2 separate regions of the Homo sapiens genome follow, and region 2 is linked to region 1. The links are contacts of gene promoters, found by promoter capture Hi-C in human tissues and cell types (Jung and others, 2019). All regions are on one chromosome and are shown on one strand. Each heading gives the region's core, a stretch centred on a gene start or on the middle of the fragment in contact. The rest is flanking DNA. Distances are from core to core; before and after follow the strand shown.

What was found. Contacts are between HindIII fragments. The study calls those that stand out against the background at their distance.
Region 2: a fragment that was not itself captured here is called in contact with the fragment with the promoter of ZBTB21 in region 1 in 1 of the 25 tissues and cell types used here (thymus).

What each region holds. Positions count from the first base shown.
Region 1 is chr21:42,009,110-42,015,672 of GRCh38, forward strand. It overlaps ZBTB21 (zinc finger and BTB domain containing 21), which reads right to left and starts at 1,251. Exons shown (of 3, transcript NM_001098402.2): 1 at 1,143-1,251. ZNF295-AS1 (ZNF295 antisense RNA 1) reads left to right here and starts at 85. Exons shown (of 2, transcript NR_119384.1): 1 at 85-475. RefSeq lists silencers at 424-533, 574-883, 1,324-2,063. The HindIII fragment of the contact is 7,901 bases long and covers 1-6,563 here.
Region 2 is chr21:42,418,355-42,424,447 of GRCh38, forward strand. UBASH3A (ubiquitin associated and SH3 domain containing A) reads left to right here. Exons shown (of 15, transcript NM_018961.4): 7 at 47-255. Among named protein-coding and RNA genes, the nearest start is that of UBASH3A, 17 kb to the left of the region's middle. RefSeq lists an enhancer at 4,823-5,092. The HindIII fragment of the contact is 5,669 bases long and covers 1,110-6,093 here.

The sequences.
Region 1 (6,563 bases), core at 1-2,500:
CAGGGCTGTGAGCGCTTGCACGAAAGGAAAAACCCCAGGCCGTGTGAAGTCTAACTTTCCCCGTCCTCTCGGTCAGGCAATCCCACCGGGGCACCTGTCTAAAAACACCCCGCCTCCGAACGCGCGCTCTTGCGGAATTCTCCCGAACCGCAGAGCCCTCGTGGCTGGGACCGCATAGCAACCGGGGGCAGAGTGCGAGCCCCCAGCGGTGTGCTGGGATGGAAAAGCAGGAGCCGCTGAGGATGGACTACGGGGCGTGTTCCCGAAAAGCCGGGAAGAGATGTGGCGGGGCTGCCGCGGGCGTCTCTAAGGCCGGCACGGGTGGCGTCTTGACTCCCTGCCCCTCCAGCCGCGGACCTCGGACGGGGGGAAGGGGGCTCCTCCAAGCGGGGAGACGGTCGCCGGCCGAGCAGCAGGGCTCCTGGCCGGCGGAGGGTGCTATGCTCTGCGGGACCGCCGGGAAGTCCCAGACAAGGTCTGCGGGGGCTCTGGAGGAAAAAAAACGCGCTGTGAGGTCCAGGCGTCCGCGGGAGGGGCCGGGGGCGGGGAGGGAGCGTCCAGCGGGCACCGAGCGGTCACGCTCCGGCCACCGGGCCGAGGACGGGGCGGCGGGGCTAGGTCCCGGACCGTGAAGGGAGCGGCGGGTCGCGGCAGGTGCGGGGTCCCCAAGGCCGCCGGCCAGCTTCCGCGCACACCCCGCGGCCCGGGCCGCCGGCCCCCAACCCCTGCCCGGAACAGGAGAACGCGCCCTTCTCCACGAGGCGTTTCAACCGCTCCGCGCGAGGGGCGCGCGCCTGGGCCAGGCGTGTCCCCTACCCCAGGGGCAGCTCGGCCAGGGTGAAGAGTGAAGCCCGTGAGGGAATGGAGCATGCGCATTCGCGAGGGCGAGGCCAAGTGCTGGCAGGGAGCGTGCGCAGTGTGAAGGTACAATCGGCTACGTGGGAACCCGGGACATGCTCGGTGAGCGCCCAGGTCCCGCGCACGCGCAGAAGCGCTCGGAGCCCGCAACCCGCTGGTGGAGAAAAAAGAGGAGAGAAATCACCTCAGAGTTACGTCAGGAAAGGCCGCGTTTTGCGGGGAGGCTGTAGCCTCCCAAGGAGCCCCGCAGTTCTCCTAGAGCTAGGGGCGTGACAGTTACTCACCGGTCTTCAGTCTCGAGGCAGACGCCGGGCCCCTTTCCGCTCACACTCGGCTCGCGCGCGCCGCAGCCGCCGCTGCCGCTGTGATTCCATCCATCTTGAATTTGACGTCATCCCACACCAGGGATGAGGTCATCGCAGGCATCGCTCGTCACGTGCGCGGCACTCTGATTGGGCGCCGGGCGCCGGAGGGCGGGGCGGGGGGGGGGCCTCGCGGCGCAGGGGGACGGGGGAGGGCGGGCCTGCCCGGAGCCGCGCGCCGAACGGACGCTGCCGCGCTGCAAGCCCGCGCTCTCGGTCCATGAGGGGAGCCTGCGGCGGCCGTTAGGGGAGGCGGCCGGGCTGGGGGCCACGGCGAGGAGGCTGAGCGCCCCGGCCGGGTGGAGTCCGTCGCGGCGAGGAGCGCGCCGATTCTCAGGGGACTTTGCCGCCTGCCGGAGGCGCCCTTGCTGCGGGGTCGCCCCGGGTCATTCGGCCGCGGTCCTGCCCAGCTGGGCCGCCAGTAGTCCCCGCTTCCGGCGCGGCGGGATGCGTGGCGCGAGCGCTTAGTCCCTCGGAGGGGAGGACGCGCTCCCGTTCACCGGTGGACGGCGGGCGACTCCCCGAGCCGACGACCCCGACAGCGACGGGAGCGACGCGCGGCTTTCTGACGGGCGCGGGCGGCGAGCGGGGCCCTGCGGTCCTCGGGTCGGCGGCAGACGCTCCCGGCCCGCGAGGAAAGCCCGCGGGAGGCGGCTCCTGCCGCTCGCTAGTCGCTCAGAGCGCTTCCATTTCCTCCTCCCGACGCAACCTGGCCACCTGGCCCCTGGGCGGGGACCCGGCGGCCGCGGCCAGGGCGTCCGGGCTCGTTCGCCGCGCAGATGGGGGTCGGTCCTGACCCCCGCCGGGGCGTCCACAGCGGCCCGCAGGCAGCCGGAGACTTCGCATAGTGCCCGGCTCATCGGAGGGCTGTGATCTTTTTTTTTTTTGCAGAAATATTACAACTCCACTGATGAGAAAACTCACTTCGCTTTCAGTCAAAACCAGAAATTAGATAACAGAAATGCCACACTGTCAACACCGACCGGGAGGAAAGCCTCGCTGGCGGAGACCGCTCAAGGGAGCCCTCCGCGCGTTCTCCCAGCCCGGGTCGCAGGTGGAGGGGGAGTGCCTCCTGCAGGGACGGTTCTCCCGCAGACACTCAAACTCCGGGATGTAAAACCCCTGTTAATAATTGTCAGGGGTCTGTTAATTGCCAAATACAGTTTTTGAAAGTTGTATGCACTAGGTAAAATAATTTATGTAATGTTTGGAAGTATGTGAAAGACAGACATTAGATTGATACAAATTAAAAATTTGTTGCCAAATTAACAGCTCTGTTGTAGATTATTAGTTTGACTAATTTTAAGAGGACTCTTAGTCTTACATAAAGAATCTTGCACCTAAAAATTTTCTCCTACAACTTTAAAACACTTTAAATTTTTTTTTTTTTTTCCTGAGATGGAGTCTCTGTCAGTCCCAGGCTGGAGTGCAGTGGCATGATCTCAGCTCACTGCAGCCTCCACTCCCTGGCTCAAGCCATCCTCCCGTCTCAGCCTCGGCAGTAGCTGGGACTATAGGTGCATCCGTCACACCTAGCTGATTTTTGTATTTTTGGTAGAGATGGAGTTTCACCATGTTGCTCAGGCTGGTTTCAAACTCCTGGTCTGAAGCAATCCACCCGCCTCAGCCTCCCAATGTGCTTGGATAACAGGTGTGAGCCACCATGCCCAGCCTAAAGAGTGTCTGTATTTTGAACTGTATGGTGGAAAAGCACAAAGTGACTGTTCTGAAGGTAGAAGGCAACAGTGATTATAAGTCTTAAAAGAACCTTGAGTTTTAGGTTCCCCTGTGATTAGGCTGGGGGAGTGTGTGCTGTTATCCTAGTTTTATAGGTGAGAAAACTAGTACTGGCTTTACCGCATGCTGGAAGCAGCCTCCCTTGAGCGATCCCTTTCTAGCCACCTGCTTAGCTGTTTTTTTGTTTTGTTTTGTTTTTTGTTTTTTCAACCTTCCTCAGGACGATACACATTGGTGTCTCTGCTTTGAGCTATATGATCAGGCTTTTGGCCTCACCATTTCACTGGAATTGACCTGACTGCCAAATCTGGCAGAAACCGTTGCATCTTTCAGTTGCTCTCTTTGATTTGTGACACGCTTCCAATTGCTTCAGCAGTGATTGCTTCAGTTACGCCTCATTCCCTGGATTTCCCACCTCTTGGCTGACTGCTCCTCCTGGGCCGGCTGTGTTGGCCCTTCTGCCCCTGCCCATGCTCGCACTGGGTTTCTTGGCACACACACCCTATGCAGTCTCATCCATGCTTGGAACATATGCCCAGTTGCTGGAGCCAGGAATGTGGGCACCATGGTGGGCTCCTCCCTCACTTCCAGTATTGGGTCTATCCCCAAGTCCTGTCCGTCCGACCTCCTCAGTGTTTCTCTGGTAACGTAACCGCTTAACTGCTCTCCCAGCCTCCAGGTTTCCTCCTTTAATCCACTCTCACATTACAGCCAAAGCGATTTTTCTAAACAGCAAAAGGGATCATGCCACTCCCTTGCATAGGGTTTAATGGCTCTCCATTGCCTAGGTGAGAGTTCAAACCACAACGCACAAGTGCCTGAGGACTTGGCCCAGCCTCTCCCATCTTTCCCCCACCTCCACTCTGACATGCAGGCCTCTAAACTAGTCTTGCTCTGTCTCTTGCCTCTGGGCTTCTGGGCTTCAAGTGTGTTGTCCCTTCTGCCTGAGCTATTGCCCCCACCACTACCACCCTGTTTTAATGGGATAATTTCATCTTGATTGGTGTTTCTTCCTCCAGGATTCCACCACCTCCCCACCCCACCTGACTGGCATCTTCTCAGCTGTATCTAGGGTTGGTGCTCCCTCCTCTGTGCTCCCATAACACCTGGTGCAGGTTTTGTTGACACCACTTGTGTAGGTGATGTTGGATTTGCCAGCCAGCACCCTCTCATCCGCCCTGCAGGTTTCTTGTTTGCCTCTGCCTGCCCAATGCCTGACTTTCAGTCTAAATTCCTTACCTCTTTCAGCTTCTGGTGGCTGCCAGCATTTCTGAGCTTGTGGCTGTATCACTCCAATCTCTGCCTGTGTGTTCACATGGCCTTCTTCTGTCTGTCAAATCTCCCTCTACTTCTTAGTGTTAGCCGTACACTGAAGCACCCCAAACAGGATCTCTCACACCATAGACACATATGTTCTTTTATACAAAATGCACATTGTTTATGCAGCCACCTCATTAGACACCCTGCGGACAACCCACAGCTGTGCACACAGCAAGCTCACAGCTGGACTTCCTATCGACATTCTATCTGCCCTTGAACCATTTTTTCCATCCTTGACTGTGTCCTACTTAATTAAAGATGCTGCTGTCTGCCTTGCTACCCAAGCCAGAAACTTGACGGTTATTTCTCAATGTCTGCATTCAACTGTCACTAAGTCCTATCAATCTACCTCTTAAATGCCACTTAAACCTGTCCTTACCAGCCTTATTTCAGCTGTTTCTGGCCTGCAGCAGCTCTGTCCAATCTGTAGCCATTGCAACCAAGTTCCTGCCTCAGTTTTGCTTCCTTCCCTTCCCAGCCTAGTGCGTTTTCAATCAAATTTATCTTTCCAAATGCAACTCGGGTTAACTTGCATTGGTGCTGTATACCCACCCACCCTCCCATGTGGCTTGCAGATGCCTGCGGCCTCATAGCTGGGCATGGCCTGTCCAGTGCTGCCAAGGTGGCTTTGCTTTCTGCTTGCCTCGCCTTTGCCAACCCCTCTAGCCATGTAGTCTGGCATAGGCACTTCCTGGGATGGCCTTTTCCTATTCAATCTGCAGGCAAATCCAATTTCAAGTGTCAGACCGAGGCTGCCTCCCTCTGCGCTTCAGTGATTCCACTATACCATCTATTTCACCTATTCCCATCTGCTCAAAGGCCGGTTTCTCCACTAGTTTGCATGCCCCTTGGCACAGAGACCATGTCTGTTAACTTGTGTATGCCCGGAGCTTTGGACCTGTTGCTAGGGCTGTGTCCTGGGCCATCTGTTCCCGATGGCTAGAGTTTTCTCTCTGAAACTGTTACAGTGGTAGCCGATTCTCCAGTGTTCATGCTGTTAAGTTGGTTTGCATTTCTTATAACAAAAAAAAACACAGCCCTTTTATAATTTGGGGGAGGGAAGTCTCTATGGGGTTTAACATATCTGCTTCTTCATATTTGGAAGCGGGAAGTTTTAATCAGCTGTGATTCTCTTAACCATCATTTCATTGGAATGGGTACCTGGCTGTCCAGATTTGCCCAATCTATGGGTTGGGTGGTTATCTCTTTAAAAAATTCATTAGTTTCCTGTGGCTGCTGTAATAGCTTTCTACAAACTTGGTGGGTTAAAACAATAGAAACTTACTCTTTTACAGTTCTGGAGGCCAGAAGTCCGAAATTGGTCTTATGGGATGGAAATTCAGGTGTGAGCAAGGCCACACTTCCCTTGGAGGATATAGAGAAAGTGCCTTGCTTTCAGCCTCTGGTGGCTGCCAGCATTCCTGGGCTTGTGGCTGCATCACTCTGATCTCTGCTTCTGTGTTCACATGACCTCTTTTCTGTCTGTCAAATCTCCCTCTACCTGTTTCTTTCTTTGTTTTGTTTTGTTTTGTTTTGTTTTTGTTTTAGACACCTGGTCTTGCTCTGTTGCCTAGGCTGGAGTATAGTGGTGCACTTATAGTTCATGTAACCTTGAACTTCTGGGCTCAAGTGATCCTCCAGCCTCAGCCTCCCAAGTAGCTAGGCCTATGGGTGTGCACCACCACACCTGGCCTTCTCTGCCTCTTTCATAAAGGGACACTTGGGAAGGCATTTAGGGCCTACCAGGAGAATCCAGCATGATCTCCCCATCTCAAGATCTTTTCATTTAATTACATCTGCAAGACCCTTTTTTCATATAAGGTAACATTGGAGGTTTCAGAGATCAGGACTTGATATCTTTAAGGGTCATTAGTCAGCCTACTGCAGATAAGAACAGTATTCCTGTGTAGCGGCATGGGAAGGCCTTTGAAAAGTATGTGAAACAGAAAAAGAAAAAAGAGAAGAGAATGGGAAGTGGGGAAAGTGAGGAAGGTAGTAACACTTTGGGTTGCTGTGTAAATGGTTTCCAACAACCACCTTCACAGTGAATATCACTCCGCGTGCTCAGAACTGGAGTGCCCCGGGCCATAGTGCCTCTTCAGCATGGTTGAAGTTGGGTGGGATTAAGTGTTGATCACACTGGGTTCTCATAATTGAGAAGCCCTATCTGTAAACATTATCATAAACAAAAAGTGGTACTAAGCTTAAGGACCTCCCAGCCAGAAGCATTAGTGCTGGTTTTCTCCAAAGGCCGTAATTGCCTCTTCCTCTCTCTTCTCGCCACCC
Region 2 (6,093 bases), core at 2,694-5,193, 410 kb after region 1:
TGTAAATCTTTGCTCGAGACGTGAAACCCCTTTGCCTCTTTTCTAGACCCTGAGAGCCCTATTCCAGTACAAACCCCAGAACGTGGATGAGCTGACGCTAAGTCCTGGTGACTACATCTTTGTGGACCCCACGCAGCAGGACGAAGCCAGCGAGGGCTGGGTGATTGGGATCTCACAGCGGACGGGCTGCCGGGGCTTCCTGCCGGAAAACTACACGGATCGAGCCAGTGAGTCTGACACGTGGGTGAAGCACAGGTGAGTGCTGCCTCTGGCTGCAGCCCCGTCATCTCTCTCTGAGTTACTGTGTGAGAGTGCCCACCTGCCAACAGTGTGCTTCTAGACCATTCCATTATTGGTAAAATTGCATTCTGTATGCTGACAAAATTATTCCTGCAGGTATATAGTAAACATCTTGGTTCGTCCCTGGTTTTCTGATGATAACATTCAAAAAAGAATGAATTACTCTGCATTAGAGTAATTTGAGATGGTAATCCCCAAATTACTGCAAAATACTACTTCTTTATCACACACATAATAAATTATACTCAGAGGTCCTGAGCTTGGGTTTATTTATTCTTCTGCTCCGTGTATGAAATGTAAAGTCCTAGGTCGTATTATTAGTTTTCTATGACTGTATAATAAATTACCACTAAAACAAAGTGCAATTATTATCTTATGGTATTTATGGGTTGAGAGTCAGAGTCCAGCTTCACTGGGTCCTCAGCTCGGGGTCTCAAGGCTGTAATCAAGGTGCCTGCCAGGGCTGGGCTCCCCACTGAGGCTTCACACCCTCGCCTGAGCATACACAGTTGTTGGTGGGAGTGATTTCCTTGAAGCTGTAGGGCTCCTGGTGAGTTGCTTCTTCATCAGCTGAAGAATCTCTTAATTTTAGCACCTTTTAGCATCATCTGGTGAGGCTAAGGATTTTCAGAATCATCAGATACTGGTTCTTTTTTGTTCGATGTTCTTCCCTCAATTTATCTCTTTCCTCTCCCGCTTCACTATAAATAACATGAAGAAACCAGGTGATACACTTAACACTTTGTTTGGAAATAGCCTTAGCTATGTGACCAACATCATCGCTTACAAGTCCTGCTCTCCATGGACAATTTCATTAAACTCTCTGGCACACATGGGAAGGATCCTCCTTGCTCCGATTTCCTGGAACACCTGTCACATTCCTTTCTGAGTTCTCCCCGGAGGATTCACCTTTAGCATCCCTATTTCCTCTAGCAGTCTGTTCATGGTGATTTGGGCTTTCTCTGCTGTGCTACTCAAAAGTCTCTTAGCCTCTACTCGCTGCCAAGTCCCAAAGTTGTTTCCACATTTTAAGTTCAGAAGGTTTCCAACTTACAATGGTTTGGCTTAGGATTTCATAATGTTACGAAAGTGATATGGGTTCAATAGAAACTGTACTTCAAGTGCCCATACAATCATTCTGTGCTACATTTTCAGTACAACATTCAACGAATTACATGAGATACTCAACACTTGATTATAAAATCGGCTTTGTGTTAGATTATTCCGCCCTATCATAGGCTACTGTAAGTGTTCTGAGCGTGTTTAAGGTAAGCTAGGCCAAGCTGTGATGTTCAGTAGGTTAGGTGCATTAAATGCATTTTCAATTTATGATGGGTTTGTTGGAACATAACCCCATCTGAAGTTGAAGAACATCCACTGTTTGTTAGAGTAGCACCCCATTCCTGATACCAAATTTAGTAAAAGTTTAACCAGAGATGCAGAACCAGTCACTTTCATACAATATATAATACATATAAGTATATGTACAGTTGTCCCTTGCTATCTGCAAGGGATTGGTTCCCGGACCCCCACAGATACCCAAATCCTCATGTTCTCGAGTCCCCGATATAAAATGCTGTAGTATTTACATGCAACTTATGCACATCACCCTGTATCCTTTAAATCATCTCTAGATTACTTGTGATATGTAATACAGTATAAATACTATGCAAATAGTTGTTATACGGTATTGTTTTTTATTTGTATTTTTTAAATTGTATTGCTATTTTTTAATTGATTAATCTTTTGAATATTTTTGGCCTGCAGTTGGTTGAATCCACAAATGCAGAACCTCCAGATACAAAGGGCTGACTATACATACATAGTATTTTATATTATATACACATGTATCACACACATATATATATGGAAAGGTATATATGTATACACACATCTATATTGATTTACTACAATGAATTGCCTTATGGAATTACTGGGGCTAGCTAAGCAAGGGCAGACAGGCAGGAAGGGAGGAGCCTACTTAGGCTGAAAACCCATGGGCAAGCTGAAGCTTGTTGTCCACATGTGGCAGTTGGAAGGACCACCCGGGTGATGGGAGAGCAGTCACAGACACAGCTGCTATTGAAGTCTCTGAGTGTGAGGAAAGCCTAAGTTTTTAAAAAAAAATGCCTTCCAACTGCATAAGTCAGACCTGCTCAGAATAACCTTGCTTTTGATTAATTTAAGCTCAACTGATTAGGGGTTCTAGTCACATTTGTAAAATCTCCTTCCAGCAGCACCTAGACTAGCATTTGATGGGATAGCTAGGAAGGCTGTGTGTGATGCTTAGGATGGCTACTGCCTCCCTTCCATCCTCCAGCTCTCATGAGAATGCCTCTTGTAGCCCACCCTGATCAGACATGTGCTAAAAAGGAAGTCTAGGAACTGTCGTTCAGTCTGGCCAAGTTGCCACACCATAAAGCCATTGCAAAGTGTTAAGGTGGCTCTTGTGAGCTTTTTCACTCTCTTCTCCCAGGTTCCAGTTAGGAGAGTGGAGAGAGCAGGCAGAGGTCAGAGTACACATGGTGAAAAAAGAGAAAAGCTGCTCAGCCTCATGGGTGTGCCTGTTGGGGTGGAGCTCTTGCAGGTGTCAAGACTGATGGTTGGAACAACTGAATGATGAGAGTGGGAGGAGAAGGGCAGAAATACACAGAAAAACCCTATGTTGTGGTTCTGGGCTTCCTGGCACCTTCAGAGCTGTGTGGCTGGGGAAGAGAGCCTGGAAAAACACCATCGTGGCCATCCCTCTGTCTCCAGGCAGGAGGTCTTAAAACCATTTTATATTTCACTCATTTGTTTAATTCTCTCCTAAAATGCTCCACAGCTTCTCTAGGGTTCCCCTCACCACCCTGACAAATAAATAAATCATTAAGTTGAACACAGATGTATCAGCATCTACTCAATCTATAGATTTTCAGATCTGTGCTGGACATTTGCTGTGGACTTCTATTTCCAGCATCTATACATCCAGGGAATTATTTTCTGTACCCTTCCTAATGAGATTCATGCACATGGCAAAACTATGAAAATTGTGACGTTTTATTTGAGTAGTCATTAAAAGCTGCTTAAAAATTGTCAGAGGCTATATGGATAAGCCTCTGTGTGGATAAGACTAGCATTTTAAGTAAATTAAGAAAGAACGTATTTTGAAGAGCTGAAATAAATGATTGCATATTGGTCATTTTTATCCAAACCCCCAAAAAAGAAAAGAAAAGATGGTTTAATAGTACCTGATAGAAGCTCTTGGTGAAATGATTAGAATTTGCAAGAAATAGTAGTAAAAATAATGGAAGTATTGTCTGAAATATTTATAAAAGGAGATTTGGTGACTATGGCTGATTTCTTTAAGTATTATATTTCTTTTTGCTAATTATTCATACACTGAGATTTGTATAACAAGCCAGGGACAGTACCTATGTCCCTGGGCTCCCCCACTAAACATAATAGCCACTTGACATTCAAGGAGAGCAGATTCCAGCCAAAGCCCCACAGCTGTGCATACATGACATTCCATATCATCTTCTCTTGAGGCCATTTAACTTCTTACCCTAATGAATAAGAACTTAGGACCACAAAATGCAAATGTGGGATGAAAAATGCAGCCGTAGTCACACGTCTTTATTTATTGATGTGTTGACTCCTAATCCACTTAAATCTATTTTAAGGCAGCTTAAGAGATGTCCAATAGCTTTGCACACTAACATCACCCCCTGTGCCTGGCTCTGTGCCATGCATTTCCCTTACTAACTGATTTACTTCTCCAATACCCCCTGGATAGGCACTTTTATTGATCCATTTTATAGTTGATGAAACTGAGACACAAAGAGATCAACTCACTTGCCTGTGTTCACACAGCAAGTGAGCAGAGGAAGCCGGATTCCAGTCTTATACCTAATCCCACGCTTGGGCTTTCAACTATGACCTCAACTGCCTATAGAAGAGATCATTAAAATTTAAAAATAAGTCCATAAATTAAATTATGACACATCCATACAATAAAATATTTGCAGCTTTAAAATAATTAAAAGGGAGAATTTTATATATTGATTTGAAAAAATATGCAAGATTTATTGATAAATGAAAAAAATAAGTTGCAGAACGATGTGTATGGCATGATATACTTGTGGGGGAAGGGGAGAGAAACACATAACTGTCTGTAAATACATGTGCACAATATGTATTTCTATACATGTGTATGCCTAAAGGTTCCCTGGAAGGGAGAGTGTCTAGAAACTTCTAACCATGGTTACCGGTGGGTGTTGGGAGTGGGAGCCAGGAGAATGGAACAGAAATGGGAGGGAGTCTTTTCAAACACGACCATTTCATAATGTTTAAATGTATGAAGCATATAAATGCATTACTTACTCAAAACATAAATTAATCCATTTTAAATTTCAAGAAGAGAATGTAAGAAAGCTGGGTCAAAGGGAGAGTAAAGGTGGAAAAGCTAGACAAAGCCAGGGCTGAGGTTTGTCCATACCATGGCGTGCGCTGTGAGCTCCCAGCTCCGAGCTTTCCCACATCCAGTGAGAAAACAGACACACATTCAACCAACAGTCATGGCCATCCCAGATGCGTGCAGACCAGCGGTTCAGGAGAAACACAATTTGCTGACATAGACATGTCCGTGGGTCCAGGGGCCACATCAAAATCACAGGATGTGGGTGCCACAAGGGATTGTAGAGATAACCGAAGGCAGCTCCCCTGCTTGAGAGGTGAGAAGACTCGGGCCCAGGAGGCCAGGTGACGTTGTACAATCAAGGAAGCTCTTGCTTTCTTGCAAGCTCAGTTCACCACCTGATCCAATCAACAGTTTAAGGAATAGAGAGGAGATGCTGGCTATGCCCTAACTAACCATCTCAATTTCAGGAGGGTTGGGGCTCCCCTGTGGCCCCGCATCATTTAGCATGTCCTTCGCTCTCTGCCCGGGATGGGAGAGTTTCACAGTCACAGAGGAACCACAAAGACTCTGCAGAAGATGAGTCAGCGGCTATGATACTTTTCACTTCACAATTAATACATCAGACACCTGCCATCAACATAACCATTCCAGCTTTTATGCCTGACATTTCTGGGACTATTCTTTCCAGAGGAACTTTCTCTTGAGAATTAATCAGTATTAACAAAAATTGCAATGAAAGGAAAGAGAAATAAGCACTGGGCTAGGTGCTGTGGGTTGTCTGATTGGTCCTGCTTTGGAAGCACCCTCATTGTGGCTGGGGGAGCATCAAGACACCCTGACAAGCTGTGATCTGTGCTTATGGGCCAGTGAGGCAGATGACGGGAGCTGTTGGACTCCACTGTGCTGGCTAAATCTTTTCAAACTGCTGAAAATCCTTATTAAACATCTAAAGCTTTCAAAATCGGAAAATGATCCTTGAATGTCTCCACACATCACTGACATATTCATTAGTGGAAAATGGGGTCAGACAGCAATGTCCAGAGGCCAGCTGACCCACGGACTGACAGATAGCTGTGCAGATGTTGAATAATTACTTCCTACGAGCCCTGGTCAGGACTCACACTTGCACGATCCAAGCAGCAGAACCACTGGCATTAGAGTGCCTGGAAACAGACCTGCAGGCGCACCAGGAGGAATCCCCCTGCCCGCCACAGAGGGCACCTTTCCAGGTAAGAGTCTGCAGCTCTGATGAATAGTACTTGTCAATTAACACACCAGTCACCCATCACCACTATAATGACCCCAGCCTCAGCCTCCGTGCCAGACGGTGCAGGGATTCTTTGGACTTATCTACCGCAAAATCACACTGTAATGTTTGTCCATTGCTTTGA